Regions from separate parts of the Homo sapiens genome. Here region 2 is linked to region 1. Evidence: promoter capture Hi-C in 16 types of primary human blood cells and fetal thymus (Javierre and others, 2016). All regions are on one chromosome and are shown on one strand. Each heading gives the region's core, a stretch centred on a gene start or on the middle of the fragment in contact. The rest is flanking DNA. Distances are from core to core; before and after follow the strand shown.

What was found. The method cuts DNA at HindIII sites, captures the fragments that hold promoters and counts their contacts. A CHiCAGO score of 5 or more calls a contact.
Region 2: a contact is called between a fragment that was not itself captured here and the fragment with the promoter of TDRD1 in region 1, in 1 of 17 cell types (neutrophils). The highest score is 5.1, in neutrophils.

What each region holds. Positions count from the first base shown.
Region 1 is chr10:114,177,263-114,181,107 of GRCh38, reverse strand. It overlaps TDRD1 (tudor domain containing 1), which reads right to left and starts at 1,755. Exons shown (of 25, transcript NM_001395205.1): 1 at 1,692-1,755. The HindIII fragment of the contact is 8,256 bases long and covers 1-2,213 here.
Region 2 is chr10:113,948,332-113,952,176 of GRCh38, reverse strand. No RefSeq gene overlaps it. Among named protein-coding and RNA genes, the nearest start is that of ADRB1, 94 kb to the left of the region's middle. The HindIII fragment of the contact is 1,628 bases long and covers 774-2,401 here.

The DNA of each region.
Region 1 (3,845 bases), core at 506-3,005:
AGGCAAAAATGAGGGCTCAGCTTTCTGGATTTCTTTGTTCTGTACTTCACGCTTTGAACCCATTAAGTCCTGAAGCTCCCTAAGGGTAGACCCTCTCTTTTCTTTGGAATCCTATCGGTTCTCCCTGATGTTGCTGGGGGCTTCCTAAGATACACTATGAATAGTGGGGTAAGTCATTTCTTCTCCCTCTAGGATACCACAGGCTGGAGTTCTTTTAACAACAAAAGTGTATGCACAGATACTCAGCTGTCATTTTTTTCCTTCTCTGATGTTTGCTTTTGTCTTCCTGGCAACCCCATGTATTCTGCAAGAACCATTCTACTCAAAGAAAACACTCCGGTTTTGGCTGGGCGCTGTGGCTCACGCCTGTAATCCCAGCACTTTGGAGGCCGAGGTGGGCGGATCACCTGAGGTGAGGAGTTGGAGACCAGCCTGGCCAACATGGTGAAACCCTGTCTCTACTAAAAATACAAAAATTAGCAGGGCGCCGGTGGCTGGCCTGTAATCCCAGCTACTAGGAAGGCTGAGGCTGGAGAATCGCTTGAACCCGGGAGGCGGAGGTTGCAGTGAGCTGGGATCGCGCCATTGCACTCCAGCCTGGGCAACAAGAGTGAAACTCTTACTCAAAGAACAAACAAAAACACTCCGGTTTTAAACAGACAAAACGCAACGCTTCGGTAAAGCATGAGCTCTTAAGTCAGCCAGGTAAGTCTCGTCTTCCTCATTTAGCCACGCTATCTTGGGCAAATCACTTCATCTTTCTAGGATTCAGCGACTGTAAAATGCAGAGGGCAGTAGTTAACTTCCTCACAAATCCTAATCACGAGAATTAAATGAGAGACGAAGTAAATCACTTAGCACAGTGGCTAGTACTTCCTAAGGGCTTAAAGGGCAGCTATTATTTCTGCTTTACTTTTATACCACTCCTACAAGCACAAAATTTCTTCCATTCCTGTGGAACCAGCTTGCAGGCTTAAGATGAAAATAATTTGAGGACTAAAGTATTTTTATTTCGTTATTCCTACAGATAAACAAGGGAGACGTGGGAAGTTGGAATAACTTACCAAACCACCCAGGGCCAGCACCTTACACAGTTTAGATAAAAACGCAGGTCAGACTCCACGGCCTTGGATTTAAGCATACAGCACCGTGCTGCCTCACTAAGGAAGCTGGAAGCATTTAGCTCCCTTAGTTCAGAAGCCCAGCAGGGCTAACGTATTTATAGCAAGGACCCTAGGGCCCGGAAAAGCTACTGGCACACAGCAGGAACTCCTTAAACAAACTAGCGCCAGCTGACCCACATCTAAGTAAATGCCCTAGCACATCTTCCTTTCCTATAGGAGGAAAGTAGGGAAAAAAAAGTCTAGTAAATGTTAATATTGTTTGTATCGTAATTTTTAGTCAAACGAAGGCACTGAATCCACATGCAAGTTTCTCTTAGAGAGAAGGTGAACGTTTGCATTTGAAGGAGTGATGCCTGGAAGCGCTATTTCCAAACTCAGAGAATCCTCCCACACCAAACCCTCGCAGCAAGGTTCCAAGTCTCCTCTCTCCACTTCCAGGCCCCTTGTACCCGCTCAACGCCCAACCTCAACGTCCAGCGCCCAACGTCTGGCCCCCAACGACCGAAGCCCCCTCCCTTCCCCTTCATGCAGGCCCTCTCCCTCCCCTATACGCCTGGGAACCCTGACCTGGAAAGAGGCAAGAGGACCGCGGATCCGAACCTGTCTCTGCGGTCTGGCGGTGATGGCGACTGCCGATGCTGGGAGCCCTGCCGCCTGGGATGCGCCCTGCACTTCCCTCGCCTCCAATCCCCAGTGCGCCCTCCTGGCCTCAGCGCACGCCTGCGCACTCCGCGTCCACGTGCAACTCAATGTGCCCACGTGTTCCCTCCGCCTTCCCCGGAAGCAGCTTGTGCTCTAGTTACAGGCTCAAAAAGTTCCTTTGCAGAAACTTTTATTTTGTTCTAGCTTCTTCTAGAAAGATGTCTCTGGCAACGCCTTTGGCAAATTTGGGCGCAAAGATGCAGACTTTGTCTCCTCGAAGGTCACTTGGGTCACCGTGGCCACTTAAAGGTCTTCCAAGGTTTTCCAAATAATCAACAGCCTCTGCCTGGTCTTGGAAAGTAAACACACACGTGCTCATACTTTTTTTCTTTGCTTCCTGACTGAGGGCATGTGATTATACCTGTTGGTGTTACTTAAAGACAAGCTTTTTAAGTTTTGTTTTTTTTTTTTTTTGCTATGGAACTTTTCTAACAATTTCATAAGGGAACCCTTGTGTGCCTATCATCTAGTTTCTACCTTATCAATTCATGGTTAATCTTGTCTACATCTGCAGCCCAGGCACTCTTCGGGCAATGTTTTGAAGCAAATCCGAGAATTGTAAATGTGAGACAAAGTAGCGAACGTCTGCTTCTGGCCCCCAGCATAGTCCTCCCTCACTGTGAAAAAGCCACGTTTGTTCACTGTGTTTGTCAGCATTTCAGACCCCTTGACTTAGTAACATCTCAGCCCTCCAGAAGAATGCCTTGAAGACTGCGGAGAGAACTCAGGTTCCCACCTCTCAGAGTCACTGCATTTTTAGAAAAGATACTTTCAGAGATCTAGGCCTTGCCTTTTTCTGTACCTAACGGACAAGATTAATGATGATGCCTAGACTTACTCTCGCACCCAAACTTTGAAAATATTTTGATCTTATATAGCTTCTGGGCACTTTTAATGTAACCCCTGGGCAGAACCTCTACCACCTAATATTTAAAGTGTGCTGACCCACTGCTTTGGAGTAGTTTAACAGAAATTCTCTGGGCTCTCCCTGGTTGCAGTCCTCAGTAAGACTCTGAATAAAACTAACTTCACTAACTTCAATTCTTTAAAAGCCTGATTTTTTTTCTTTAGTTGATGTGTCTTTTAAATTTATTTTTTAGAGCAGTTTCAGATTTACAGAATAGTGAAATGAAAGTGCTGACTGGGCGTGGGGGCTCATGCCTGTAATCCCAGCACTTTGGGAGGCCGAGGCAGGCAGATCACTTGAGGTCTGGAGTTCGAGACCAGCCTGGCCAACATGGTGAAACCCCGTCTCTACTTAAAATAAAAAAATAAAAAAAAATTAGCTGGGTGTGGTGGCAGGCGCCTGTAATCCCAGCTACTTGGGAAACTAAGGCAGGAGAATCGCCTGCACCCAGGAGGCGGAGGTTTCACCGAGCCAAGATCACTGCCACTGCACTCCAGCCTGGGCAACAGAGCAAGACTGTCTCAAAAAAAAAAAAAAAAAGAAAAAGAAAGAAAGAAAAGAAGGTGCTGTACAGAGTTCTGACAGAAGCCACATCGTTTCCCCTATTATTAGCATGGTCTGTTAGCATGATACATTTGTTATAATTAAGGAACCAAGGAACCAACATTGATACAGTATTAACTAAAGCCCATCTTTTTGATTTCCTTCGTTTTTACCTACTGTCCCTTTTCTGATGCAAGATCTCATCAGGATATCATATTACATTTAGTTTTCATGGATCCTTAGGCTCTTCTTGGCCATGGGACTTCCTTAGACTTTGTTTTGATGACCTTGATGTCAAGTTTCCAGGAGTACTCTCAGGCCTTTTGTAGGATGCCCTACTTTTGGAATTTGTCTGATGTTTTTCTGCTGGTAGGAAAGGAGTTACGGGTTATTGGAAGGAAGACCACAGAGGTAAAAATGCCATTTTTATTGCATCATATCAAGCATACATCCTATGAATATGATTATGACAATTGATGTAGGATTTGGTCATCTGGCTGTGGTAGTGTTTGTTGGGTCTTTCTACTATATTCTTTTTTTTCCCTTCCCTTTTCATACTATACACTTTG
Region 2 (3,845 bases), core at 338-2,837, 230 kb after region 1:
CATTTGGAGATAGGGCCTGTAAGGGGGTGATAAGTTAAAATGCAGCTGTTAGGGTGGCCTCTAATCCAATCTGACTGGTGTCTTTATAAAAAGAGGAAATTTAGACTCACAGAGAGACACCAGTGATGCGGTTGCACAGACCAGGAAAGCCAAGGAAAGACTGATTTCAGGAGAAATCAAAGATACACCTTGAACGTGGACTTCCAACCTCGAGAACTGAGAGAAAATAAACTTCTGTTGTTTAAGTTACCCTGTCTGTGGTATTTTGTTATGGCAGCCTGCACAGACGAATACAGGTGTCCCTCATAAAGACTTCATTTCCACCAGGCTCCTGTGATCACTCTTCCCTCTCCATTCATCACAATTATTTTCTGCAGCATTCCGGCCAGGCGTGGTAGCTCATGCCTATAATCTCAGCACTTTGGGAGGCCAAGGCAGGCGGATCACTTGAGCTCAGCAGTTCAAGACCAGCCTGGCCAATGTGGTGAAAATCCATCTCTACTAAAAATACAAAAATTAGTCCGGCATAGTGGCATGCACCTGTAGTCCCAGCTACTAGGGAGGCTGAGGCAGGAGAATCGCTTGAACCTAGGAGGCAGAGGTTGCAGTGAGCTGAGGTTGTACCATTGTACTTCAGTCTGGGAGACAGAATAAGACTCTGTCTCAAAAAAAAAAAAAAATTCTGCAGCATTCATTTGAAAAAAAAAATTATTTTCCTTGACTCTTTATACTTTATTTTTTTCTAAGTCTTCATTTGATCATGAACCAAAGCTTCATTGAACACCATAATGCACTGAGTCCTGTTCAAAAGCAAGTGGGTTGCTAGATTCTCCACTTCAGCTATGAATCCACCACAGAACCAAACAAAGCCTTCAACACCACAGGGCTTAGAAAAGCACAATGATTTCTCTTTTTAAAAGTCACTGTTTTGGCCGGGCGCAGTGGCTCACGCCTGTACTACCAACACTTTGGGAGGCCAAGGCAGGTGGATCACTTGAGGTCAGGAGTTCGAGACCAGCCTGGCCAACATGGTGAAACCCCATTTCTACCAAAAATATAAAAAGTTAGCTGGGTGTAGTGGTGCGTGTCTTTGATCCCAGCTACTCAAGAGGCTGAGGCAGGAGAACCATTTGAACCCGGGAGGCAGAGGTTGTAGTGAGCTGAGATCGTGCCACTGCACTCCAGCCTGGGCAACAGAGAGAGACTCCATCTCAAAAAAAAAAAAGTCACTATTTTTCTGATTGTTAAAGTAATTGGAATTATTAAATAATTAGGAAAATATATAGAAAAGCATGACAATGAAAATAAAAATCACCCATAAAGACCCCTCCCTAGGTAGAATTGCTGTTAAGATTTTGAAGAATTGTCTTCCAATCTGATTTTGAAAATATACGTCAGGAGCATTTCCCCTGTTGTGAAGCAGCTTGTAGAAATCATTGGTAATATTGTGATAACATTCTATTGTATGGATTTACTGTATCTGTCCATCTATCTATCTACATATCTATCTGTTTATCTATCATCTGTCTACCTATATGTCTATGTATCCATTATCTATCTATCTATCATGTCTACCAGTCTATCTATCTATCTATCTATCTATCTATCTATCTACCAATCTATCATTTGTCTACCTGTCTATCCATCTATCATCTATCTACCTGTCTAGCTATCTACCTATCATCTGTCTACCTGTCTACTTGTCTATCTATCACCTGTCTACCTATCAGTCTATCTATCTACCTAGCATCTGTCTGCCTATCTATCATCTATCTACCTGTCTATCTACCTATCATCTACCTGTCTACTTGTCTATCATCTGTCTACCTATCTATCATCTGTCTACCTGTCTCTCTATCATCTGTCTACCTGTCTATCTATCTGTCATCTGTCTACCTGTCTATCTATCTATCATCTGTCTACCAGTCTACCTATCTGTCTATCGTCTATCTATCTATGTATCATCTTCCTATCTAGCCATTCACCCATTACTAGACATCTGGCTCTTTCCAATTGTGTTTATTATTATATTATTATTTTGCTTTGTTAAGTAGCTTGGTTCATTAACTCTCTGTATAAATCTTTGTTCAAATTTCTGATAATTTCCTTAAGATAGATTCCAAGGAGACTATAGGATCATGGGAGATGACCTTTACAGTTCTAGAAAGACATTACTAAATTGCTACTCTGGGGTGATTACACAAACCAGATGTGATTTTTACTATAAAATAACAAGGACATACTAAGGGTTCTTCTGCTGCTTAGATTCGATAACCTCAAACTTAAAAGAAGAGAAATGTTATAAGATAGTCAGAAAACTTCTGAATAATATTGGAAAGTTGACTACAAAAAGCTCAACTTTTTGTTACTGCATCGTAATTATGATAGAAATCATTAAGCTTGTCCCAGTCAAGATCCAATATAAAAAACTGAGGTTTCTTAAGTCTAGAATTTTAAATCTAACATAAAATGTAGAAAGACCCTTAGAAAGCACCTGCCAATTTTATAGATGATGAATGTGCAGCCCAGGGAAGTGGATTTCTCAAGATCACGCAGCTGCTAGTCAAAGAGCTGGTATAGGTATTCCTATCTCCCAAGCACTGGTTATAGAAATTTCTTTTAGGAGATTTAAGTCAGGGCAGCACCTAGCAATAATGATATGACTTATGCCTAAACATTTCCAACCAGGGATATCCTTGAGTTGGCTGCTAATAAATGGTTTTCCAAACACAGTTTATTAATTGGTTAGTTAGAAGAACAGTGAATTACAAAGACGATACTGAAATAATGAGTATGTCTAAATAAGAGGTACTGTTGGAAACAAGGGTCGCCTGCTGCAGGAACTACCATGGCTTTGCCTTTGGAGAAAAATGAGAATTTAATTCCTTTTGGAGCTTTTGAGTGACTGAGGAAAGTCCTATGCTCACCTCCTTTCTCAGGATTTTTGGAATGAATAATGAGCAAGAAGTAAAGTTTTGCTCTGCTTCTCTTGCAGCCTGGGAAAAATGGGTTGACTGTGCAAGGCAGGCAGGCAAGGCCAACACATTGTCTTCCTGGTCTGAATGTAGAGACTTAGATCCTAAGAAAACTGAGTTCTATACCAGCACTGTCCAATAGGAGATAATGTGAACCATGTATACAATTTTAAATTTCCTTTTTTTTTTTCTTTTTTGAGACAGGGTCTCTCTCTTTCATCCAGGCTGGAGTGTAGTGGCACGATCTTGGCTCACTGCAACCTCTGCCTCCCAGGTTCAAGCAATTCTCATACCTCAGCCTCTCGAGTAGCTGGGACTATGGGCACGTGCCACCACACCTGGCTAATTTATATATATATATATATATATATATACACATATACACACACACACACACACACACACACACATATATATACACACATATATATGTATATATATGTATATATGTGTGTGTATATATATATGCATATATATGTGTGTATATATATGTGTGTATATATATATATATATATATATATATATATATATATATATATATATATTTTTTTTTTTTGTGGAGATGCAGTTTCGCCATGTTGCCCAGGCTGGTCTCGAACTCCTGAACTCAATCAATCTGCCTGCCTTAGCCTCCCAAACTGCTGGGATTACAGGTGTGAGCCACTGTGCCTGGCCCAATTTTAAATTTTCTAATAGTCACATTTTAAAAAGTAAAGCTAATTTTAGTAATATATTCCGTTTACCCCAATATATCCCAAATATTGTCATTCAACGTGTAATCAATATAAAAATTGTTATTGAGCTAGTTCTTTTTTTTTTTTTTTTTTTTTGGTCATATTAAGTCTTTGAAATCCAGTGCCTATTTTTCAC